Linked DNA regions of Homo sapiens: region 1 is linked to region 2. Evidence: promoter capture Hi-C in 16 types of primary human blood cells and fetal thymus (Javierre and others, 2016). All regions are on one chromosome and are shown on one strand. The core of a region is centred on a gene start or on the middle of the fragment in contact, and the rest is flanking DNA. Distances in the headings are between cores, read along the strand shown. Region 1 overlaps UIMC1 (ubiquitin interaction motif containing 1). Region 2 holds the start of MXD3 (MAX dimerization protein 3).

What was found. Contacts are between HindIII fragments. The CHiCAGO score rates a contact against its expected background, and 5 or more counts as called.
Region 1: a fragment that was not itself captured here is called in contact with the fragment with the promoter of MXD3 in region 2 in 1 of 17 cell types (monocytes); the score reaches 5.3 in monocytes.

Annotation. Positions count from the first base shown.
Region 1 is chr5:176,995,718-177,000,819 of GRCh38, forward strand. The region is part of intron 1 of UIMC1 (ubiquitin interaction motif containing 1); the gene reads right to left. Among named protein-coding and RNA genes, the nearest start is that of UIMC1, 8.5 kb to the right of the region's middle. The HindIII fragment of the contact is 4,011 bases long and covers 1,269-5,102 here.
Region 2 is chr5:177,310,219-177,314,894 of GRCh38, forward strand. MXD3 (MAX dimerization protein 3) reads right to left here and starts at 1,680. Exons shown (of 6, transcript NM_031300.4): 1 at 1,543-1,680; 2 at 1,161-1,266; 3 at 450-479; 4 at 208-322. The coding sequence starts at 1,612. RefSeq lists enhancers at 1-647, 905-1,104, 2,755-2,814 and silencers at 1,655-1,834, 1,965-2,534. The HindIII fragment of the contact is 10,591 bases long and covers 1-4,676 here.

The DNA of each region.
Region 1 (5,102 bases), core at 2,024-4,523, 310 kb before region 2:
CCGTAGTCCCAGCTACTTGGGAGGTTGAGGCAGGACAATCGCTTGAACCTGGGAGGCAGAGGTTGCGGTGAGCCGAGATCATGCCATTGCACTCCAGCCTGGGCAACAAGAGTGAAACTCCATCTCAAAAAAAAAAAAAAAAAAAAAGGAATATAAAGTGGTACATCCACTTTGGAAAACAGTTTGGGAGTTTCTTAAAAAATAAGCATGTATCTACTACATTACCCAGCCATTTCATTCCTAGGTATTTACTCAAGAGAAATAAAGACGTGAATGTTCATCATAGCAGCCTTAGTCATAAGGGACAAAAACTGGAAATAACCCACATATCCATCAACATGTGAATAAACAAATTGAGACCTATCTCTACAATGAAAAATTGCTCAACAATAAAACGGAACAAACTACTGATGCATCCAACGACACAGATGAATCTCAAAGACATTATGGTGAGCAAAAGAAGCAATGTCTAAAAGACTACAAACTATGATTCTACCTGTATGAAACTAGAAAAAAACTAATCAACAGTTAAAGGAAAACAGACCAGCATTTGCCTGGAGCCAGGTCAGAAGAGGAAGAGAAATTACTGGTAAGGGGCAGGAGGGTAACTTTTGAGGTAATGTTCTCTATCTTGATTGTGGAGGTGATTACACAGTTATATACCTTGATGAAAACTCAAAATAGTCACTGAGTGGTGTTAAGTCAATAAACAAACTAAAAAAGGACTTGTGGTTACCATCATGACCATGTAAGGAGGTTGACAAATCTCTTCTCAAGAAAACTATAAAGCTAACCCAAAACAGTCAAGACAACCATTTCAGCACTTGGAAACTGACCAAAAGCATAAAACAAACTAAGAAATGTTCACTCATGAAAACGACTGAACTTTGGGTAAGAATACCATGAGTCTCTGTGATTCACACCTAGGATCAACTCCCCTATTCAGTACCCTACTCCTCAGTTCAAATCACAGGTTGAACTATGAGTCCAGTAGTTTAACCAGGGAAGGACAGAATATGAGTACCAACCACTGCACTGCAACAGCTGAAGGGAACAGATGAGATGTGGAGTATCGTTACTCCAATCTTAGTGGCCAATTGCCTGCCATTGGGTCTTACCTGAGACAAGCAACAAATGAGAAGATGAGTCAGAGATTTATCAGGAAGCTCCATGAAATAAGACAGCCATAGGAGGATTCATAAACTCTCAAAATATCCCAGAATGGTCAGAGGCTGTTGAAATGCACAGCAGAGACCACAATAGGCCCAAGCTTCCTACATAACCCTGCTCAGCGGGATCTATGTGCACGCGTGCGCACACACACACACACACAAATTTGAGAGCCCTGAGAAAAGAGTTGGGGCAGACTTGAAAGCTAGTACACACCTTCCAGCCCTGTACAGAACCAAGATGTTATCTTTAACTCTCTTTCCCTCATTTTTCATATCCAATTCATCCTTATGTGCAACTGATTTCACCTCCTATACCTCTCTTTAAGCTCTCCATTTCTTTTCATTTTCACCACTATCACCATCCAAGCTACCAACAACTCTCGTGTAGACAATTTTAACAGACTCATAACTGGGTTCCTTACTTTTACCACCGTTCCCCTCCAATCTCTACACACCAAAGCTGTTTTCTTTTCAACTGCAAATCTTAAAGTACTCCACTACTTAAAACATTTCAGGCCGGGCACGGTGGCTCACACCTGTAATCCCGCACTCTGGGAGGCCGAGGCAGGCGGATCACAAGGTCAGGAGATCGAGACCATCCTGGCTCACACAGTGAAACCCCGTTTCTACTAAAATTACAAAAAAATTAGCCGGGCGTGGTGGCGGGCCCCTGTAGTCCCAGCTACTGAGGAGGCTGAGGCAGGAGAATGCCGTGAACCCAGGAGACGGAGCTTGCAGTGAGCAGAGATTGCACCACTGCACTCCAGTCTGGGCAACAGAGCGAGACTCTGTCTCAAAAAAAAAAAAAAAAAAAAACCCATTTCAATGGTTTCCCACTATTTTTATAGTTAGGACATTTTTGCTCTTAACATAGTCTACAAAGTATGTCCCGTATTATCTGCCCTCCTGCCAGATTGCTCTTTCTAAGCTCTCTCACAGTTCTTAAGCCCCAGCCATACTCCTTTAATGTCATGAGGCCTCTATACTTGCTTCTTATGAATGGAAGATTCCCCAACATTCCCCTTCACCTAGTTAATTCCTTCTCATCCTTCAGAAGAATAACTTTCTCAGAGAAATCTTTCTTGGCTCCCCAGATTGGTCAAATACCTCTACTATACATTTTCAAAGTACCATGCACCTGTCAAAATCAGTTAACACAGTTTTAATTACACACTCATTTGCGTGATTTTTCATCGAGAAAGAAATGTCTGTCTTTCTCAATGGACTATAGCCTTAAGGAAGGCAAGGAAGAAACAGTCCCAGCACCTACCAAATGCTGTGGCAAATGATAGGGGATCAATAAATACTTATTTGCAGTGGTTCACCCCTGTAATCCCAGCACTTTCGGCAGATCATCTGAGGTCAGGAGTTCGAGACCACCCTGGCCAACGTGGTGAAACCCCATCTCTACTAAAAATACAAAAATTAGCTGGGCATGGTGGCACATGTCTGTAATCTCAGGTACTCGAGTGGCTCAGGCACAAGAATCACTTGAACCCAGGAGGCAAAGGTTGCACTAAGCTGAGATTGCGCCACCACTGCACTCCAGCCTGGACGACAGAGCAAGACTCTGTCTCAAAAAAAAAAAAAAAAAAAGTCTGGGTACAGTGGCTCACGCCTGTAATCCTACCACTTTGGGAGGCCAAGGCGGGCGGATCACCTAAGGTCAGGAGTTCGAGACCAGCCTGACAGACATGGAGAAACCCTGTCTCTACTAAAAATACAAAATTAGCCAGGCGTGGTGGTGCATGCCTGTAATCCCAGCTACTCAGGAGGCTGAGGCAGGAGAATCGCTTGAACCCGGGCGGTGGAGGTTGCGGTGAGCCAAGATCATGCCATTGCACTCTGGCCTGGGCAATAAGAGCAAAACTCCGTCTCAAAAAAAACAAAAACAAAACAAAACAAAAAATTATACAAACCTTGGAATAATTTAGTGTAGTGAATGTATACGTATTTTTCTCCTTTATTCAAAATTCCTACAAGTCTGCGCTCATTTTATAATTTAAAAATAATGCTCAGGCTGGGTGCAGTGTCTCACGCCTGTAATTCCAGCACTCTGGGTGGCCAAGGCAGGAGGACTGTTTGAGCTAGGGGGTTTGAGACCAGCCTGGGCAACACAGCAAGACCCCGTCCCTACAAAAAAAAATTAAAAATCAGTCAGGCATGGTGTTGCATACCTGTAGTCCCAGCTACTCAGGAGACTGAGGTGGGAGATAACTTGTGCCCGTGAGATCAAGGCTGCAGTCACTCCAGACTGAGTGACAGAGCAAGATCCTGTCTCAGAAAAAATAATAATAATAATCCTCAAAAAAATCTTGCAGTATTTTTAAGTTTTCTAACATACATTTTAGTTTTTAGCATATAAGTCTTATACATTTTATTAAATTTAATTTTTGTGGGTACATAGGTGCATATATTTATGGGATACATGAGATGCTTTGTTACAGGTACACAATATGTAATAGTCAGATCATACAAAATAAGGTATCCATCCCCTCAAGCATTTATCCTTGTGTTACAAACAATACAATTATACTATTTTAAAATGTACAATTACATTATTATTGACTATAAGTCATCCTATTGTGCTATCAAATACTGGGTCTTATTGATTCTATTTTTTTTTTTGGTACCCACTAACCATCCCCACCTCCCCACCATCCCCCACTACCCTTCCCAACCTCTAGTAACCATCCTTCTACTATCTCCATTAGCTCAACTGTTTTGATTTTTAGATCCCACAAATAAGTGAGAACATGCAATGTTTGTCTTTCTGTGCCTGGCTTATTTCACTTAACATAATGACCTCCAGTTTCACCCATGTTGTTACAAATGACAGGATCTCATTCATTTTTATGGCTGAATAGTACTCCATTATGTATAAGTACCATATTTTCTTTATCCATTCATCTGTTGATGGACACAGATTGATTCCATATCTTGGCTATTGTAAATAGTGCTACAACAAACCTGGGAGTGCAGATATCTCTTCAATATACTGATTTCCTTTCTTTTGGATACATACCCAGCAGTGGGACTGCTGGATCATACGATAGCTCTACTTTTAGTTGTTTTGTTTTCTTTTTTGGGATGGAGTCTCGCTCTGTCACCCAGGCGGGAGTGCAGTGGTGCCATCTCAGCTCACTGCAAGCTCCACCTCCCGGGTTCACACCATTCTCTTGCCTCAGCCTCCCGAGTAGCTGGGATACAGGCGCCCGCCACCACACCTGGCTAATTTTTTTACATTTTTAGGAGAGACGGGGTTTCACCGTGTTAGCCAGGATGGTCTCAATCTGACCTCATGATCCGCCGCCTCGGCCTCCCAAAGTGCTGGGATTACCGGCATAAGCCACCGCGCCCGGCATACTTTTAGTTTTTTGAGGAAACGCCAAACTGTTCTCCATAGTGCTGGTACTAGTTTACATTCCCACCAACAGTGTACAAGGGTTCCCTTTACCCCACATCCTTGCCAGCATTTCCTATTACGTGTTTTTGGATATAAGCCATTTTAACTGGGGTGAGATATTTCACTGTAGTTGTGACTTGCATTTCTCTGATGACCAATAATGTTGAACGCCTTTTCATATGCCTGTTTTCCACTTGCATGTCTTTTTTTTTTTTTTTTTTTGAGATGGAGTTTCATTCTTATTGCCCAGGCTGGAGTGCAATGGCACAATCTCGGCTCACTGCAAACTCTGCCTCCCAGGTTCAAGTGATTCTCCTGCCTCAGCCTCCTGAGTAGCTGGGATTACAGGCATGCACCACCACGCCCGGCTAATTTTGCATTTTCAGTAGAGATGGGGTTTCTCTATGTTGGTCAGGCTGGTCTCGAACTCCCGACCTCAGGTGATCCACCTGCCTCGGACTCCCAAAGTGCTGGGATTACAAGCCTGAGCTACCGTGCCCAGCCTGCATGTCTTCTTTGGAGTA
Region 2 (4,676 bases), core at 430-2,929:
CATTTAAGCCTCAACAACCCTCTGAGTTATTGTCTGCTTTTCTTCCCATTTAATGGATCTGGAAAGTAAAAGCTCAGAGAGCTGTCCTAAGTCACACAGTTCTTGAGCTCTGACCTCAGGTCTCGTTCCCCAGTCCCACCAGCCCCTCCATAGCACAGCCCTCCATACACCAGGGCAAGCCAGTCCGGGCGCAGTGGGGGGCCTCACCTGGATGTGCATCCTGGCACGGCGCAGCAGGCTCAGCGTGGTGTACCGGGCACAGTCGGCCCCCAGGGGCATCTGCTGCTTCAGCCGCTCCAGGCACCGCTTCAACTGGGCCCTCCTGTGGGGAAGAGGTCTGGAGGGCAGTGCCAGCCCCACCTTGCCGGCCACAGGAATGGCAGGGGAGGGAAGGCCAGAGGGCAGTGGCCCCTGGGGGCTGGCGCTGTCAGGGCAGGACTGGGACTCACCTGCGCTTCTCCAGTTCATTGTGCACTGACCTGCCAATGCCAGAGAGGATGAGGTGAAGGGGAATCAGCTACTGCCCATGCCCCAATCCCAGGGCCCCCAGTGGCTCAAGAGCCACTACAGATGTCTGCCCCAAACAAGTCCCCTGTGGAGAGCTCATGCTGGCCTCAGACACCAGAGTCCCCTGGCAGGGCGAGGGGAGTCAAAGACACACGGAGCCAAATGCTTAACAGAAGCCTGCCCAGGTGGGTATGAGGGCCCTAACAAGGGCGCCTGCCAGCTGGCCAGAAAGGACCTCCCAGAGGTGACAGCTAACTGCGGAAACAGATGTTTCCCAAGCCGGTACTGGAGGGAGGGGCATTCAAATAGGAGGGAACAGCATATGCAAAGGGCTGGGGAGAGGAGAGAAGAGGAGGAAGCCAGCGGGGGAGGTGAGTGGCCTGATGTGTGGGGTGCGGGAGTGCGAGTGGAAGCGGGACCCCAACTGCTGTTGGCAGTTCCCGGCACATCTAGAGGTGCTCAAGAAATAGTCCTTGAATGAATAGAAAGGTGTGAGTGTGTTTGGAGAGTGGGGAGATGGCAGGAGGGGTCTGAACGCTTCCTGGAGCGGGACACCTGGCCCAAAAGATGCAAGCAACAAGTGGGCAGAGGAGGGCCCGACCAGGGGCGGCGCCCACCCCCACCCCCACTCCCGCCGCCCCCGGCCTCCTCACCGCCCGCTGTCCTGCGCGCCAGGAGCCTGGGGGGGTCGCTTCTTCCTCCTGTGGATGGGGCCTGGACTGCGATGCGGGCACAGGGACGCATAACCATGCTCGGCCTCTGCCAGAGAGAGTCCCCGCCCGCGTCAGGCTGGGGCTGGACCTGGTCCCAGCGGCAGCCCCAGGCACAGCACGGTCAAGGAAAGGCTTTTGGCGCCAGGACCATTTCCCCCACCCGTCCCTGCTCTACCGCCCCGGGACTCCTCTCGAGTTGAGGGCGAGGCGCCCCGGGATTACTGTCCTAGGGCGGTGCATCCTTCAAGCTGGGAGCCAGGTCCAGTCCAGGCCCGTGTCAGCGAGGTCGCCGCCCGGAATTCAGCCAAGGGTCCTTCCTCACCTCTCTCACGGCGCTCCAGGAACTCGGCCGCCTGCAGCAGGACCTGGATGTTGCTGGCCAAGGGTTCCATGTCGGCGACAGCTGGCGGCGGGCCGGCCTAGGGTGCCGGCCGGAGCAAGCGGCTGCAGCACTTTTGTTACAAAGTAACTGACACGGTGCAACAAACACAGGGGCCCGCCCCGCCCCCGGGACGCCCCGCCCGCGGGAACGCCCAGCCCTTGGCTCCGCCCCTCTGGAACCCGCCACGGAGCCGCAGCCCACCCTCCGGCAGCCGCCCCGCCCCGAGTGGTCTCAGACTTTCCAGGGGCAGGTAAGGGCGCTGGCTCCAGGCCTGGCCCTGGAGCGAACCCTCAGGCTAACCGGTGCTGCTTCTTGCCCGCCTCACTCATCCACCCACGCCGGCTCATTGGCGTCTTTGATCTCAGCTTCCAGCCCCGTGCTAGTGACTAGCCCCCAACATAGCACGGCGCTCTGGGGGCCTGGTGGTCCCCTGAAAGCGCCGGGCCCAGCCGCTGCACGTGGGTGCCGCGGGGGCGGGGCCTCCGGCCGCCGCTCGCCCATTCGCACATGGCTTCTCAAGGATCGCTGTTGTCATCCTCGGGGCGGGGTCGGGGAGCCTCTGATGCCCTATTGGCTGGCGCTCTGCCCCGCCCTCTCCCGCCGCTGATCCACACGTTCGGGCGGGAAAAGAAGCAGGTTTCAAATTTGAAAACCCAAGCGATGGGGCGGGGTTGAGAGGGGAGCTGGGCCTCAATGCGCAGGCGCCGGCGGAGGGGCGGCGGACCCGGCTCCTGCCCTCCGGGGTCTGTCCCCAAGCCTGCCTGCCATCTGCCCCCGAAGGCCCCCGTGGGCCCCAGCTTCCTACTGTGTCGAATGGGAATAATATCTCGGCCCCCCTCCTCTTCTGTGAGGAAGCTGTTGTTGCTACGAAAACGTCAGTGGGGTAACAGCTTCCTCAGGCAGGCCATACCCTGGAGGCACGCGAAATGGCCTTTTCCGGGGCCTTGGGCTCTGGTATCCACGCAGTTGGGGTCCTCTCCTGTCACTGATGTCTCAGCTGTGTATGACTCAGGAGGTGACCTCCGTCTCTAAGCCTCAGGAGCCCTGCGACAGCGTTGAAGGATCAGAGCCAATGCCTCTGCGGTGCCCATGGCATGAAGGAGCCGCCCATCTCAAAGGCCAGTGCAACCAGACCGCGGCGTTTGCCTCCCAGGCAGCCCCTGCTTGCCTTACTCAGAGTCCATAAACCCTTCTTGCACCTGACTCTCCTAGCCGGCCGAAGGAGTGGCTGTGATGACTTCTAGCCTCAGCACCAGCAGGTGGGGCCACATCTGGGGACAGGAAGATGAACGCAGCTGTAGCAGGGTGGAGCATTGCTGCCAGCCACGGGCTGAGTCTGTGACTCCAGTAATCCCAAAATAGAGAGGGGAGGGAAGGTGGGAGGGATAGATGCTCTGTAAAGAGACAGTCCTGGTAAACACAAGCACATGTCAGTCAGGCCTCAGTTCCTTGGGAAAAATCTTTTTTTTTTTTTTGAGTCTTGCTCTGTTGCCCAGGCTGAAGCGCAATGGCTCAGTCTCGACTCACTGCAACCTCCGCCTCCCGGGTTCAAGCAATTCTCCTGCCTCAGCCTCCCAAGTAGCTGAGACTACAAGCGCCCACCACCACACCCAGCTAATTTTTGTATTTTTAGTAGAGACGGGGTTTCACCGTGTTGGCCAGGCTGGTCTCGAACTCCTGACCTCAGGTGATCCACCCACCTCAGCCTCCCAAAGTGCTGGGATTACAGGTGTGAGCCACCGTTCCTGGCCGGGAAACATCTTGAAGTTTCGGCCAGGCGCCGAAAAAAAATGAAGTTTCTCTAAGAGTTGCTCACAGCGGAATAACTGCCCTGTCTAGGCAGACGATCCATCTACCCAGCCGCCTGTCCTTAACTCACAAAGTATTTGCTGAGCTCTCACTGGACACCAGGCGCTGTGCTGGGGGCTGGAGGACATACGATAGGCAAAATCATACAGGGTCCCTGCCCTTGCAGAGCTCATAGGCTTGAGAGGGAAAGACACCAATACAGTCGCAGGAAGGCGGAGGTCCAGCTGGACAGGTCCTCACAGGGAGAGACCATGCCCCACAACACATTCTAAGGAACATTTGACCTAATTGGTGAGGCCAGAGAAGGCTTTACTGGGGAAATGGATGAAGAGGTGTTATCTAAGTATAGGAGAGATGAAAGAATTCTAGACAAAGGAACAGCACATGCAAAGGCCCTGGGGCTGAAAGGAGCATGGCAGGGGCGGTGTGGCTTACAGAGAGCAAATAGCCTGGTGCAGGCTGACACTGGAGAGGCTGCAGGGCCCAGAACATGCTGATGGGTTCCCCCAAACTCCCCCCTGCAATCAGCCATCTCTGAAGGAAGGAGCCGCAAGGGTTGTGAATGAATTTCCAATTTTATTTCACTAAAGTCAGCACCATGCAGTGCAGACACGAACCTACTCAGATGTCTGGGCCCTAGGTGGCCTGGCCTCCAGTCTGGGTGGGATAGGGGTGGGGAGGTTCTGAAGGAGGAGAATTTTCAGCAAAGGGAAAGAAGGAAGCATATGTGAGCTGAAGACATGGCCAGGAGGTGGTGGGAGTCGGGGTGGGGCTGCAGAGGGGCTGGAGGGCTCATGTCAAGGAGTTTGGACTTCATCCTAGGAGCTGCAGAGCGGTTTTGAGCCAGGGACAGCATGTGGGCTGGGGTCAAGGCCACCGGCCAGGCCAGACAGGAACAATACCTCCCCAGGAACAGGATGGGACGGGGCATGGGGGGATCCAGCCTGGACCAGCAGGGATCCTGCCCCAAGCCCTTGGATGTCCCCTGGGCCCCTGTGAGAAAATGCTAGAGCTAGTGGCCTCTAGGCACAGGACTGGACAGAGGAGCTGCAGTGCCCCCCCAGCAGTGACCAGCCCAGATCCTCTGCCCTGGAGTCCGCAGGGTCCTGCGCTTCGCCCTGTGACCTCCTGCCTCCACCAGCCCACTGTAACTGGGGTTCTGCTGCCTGTACTTGCAGTGCAGACTCTACCCGGGTCTATGGTCCTCTGGGCTCCAAGGACAGAGTCTGCATCTGTGCCCTGAGTGGAAGGGGAGAAGGGAGACC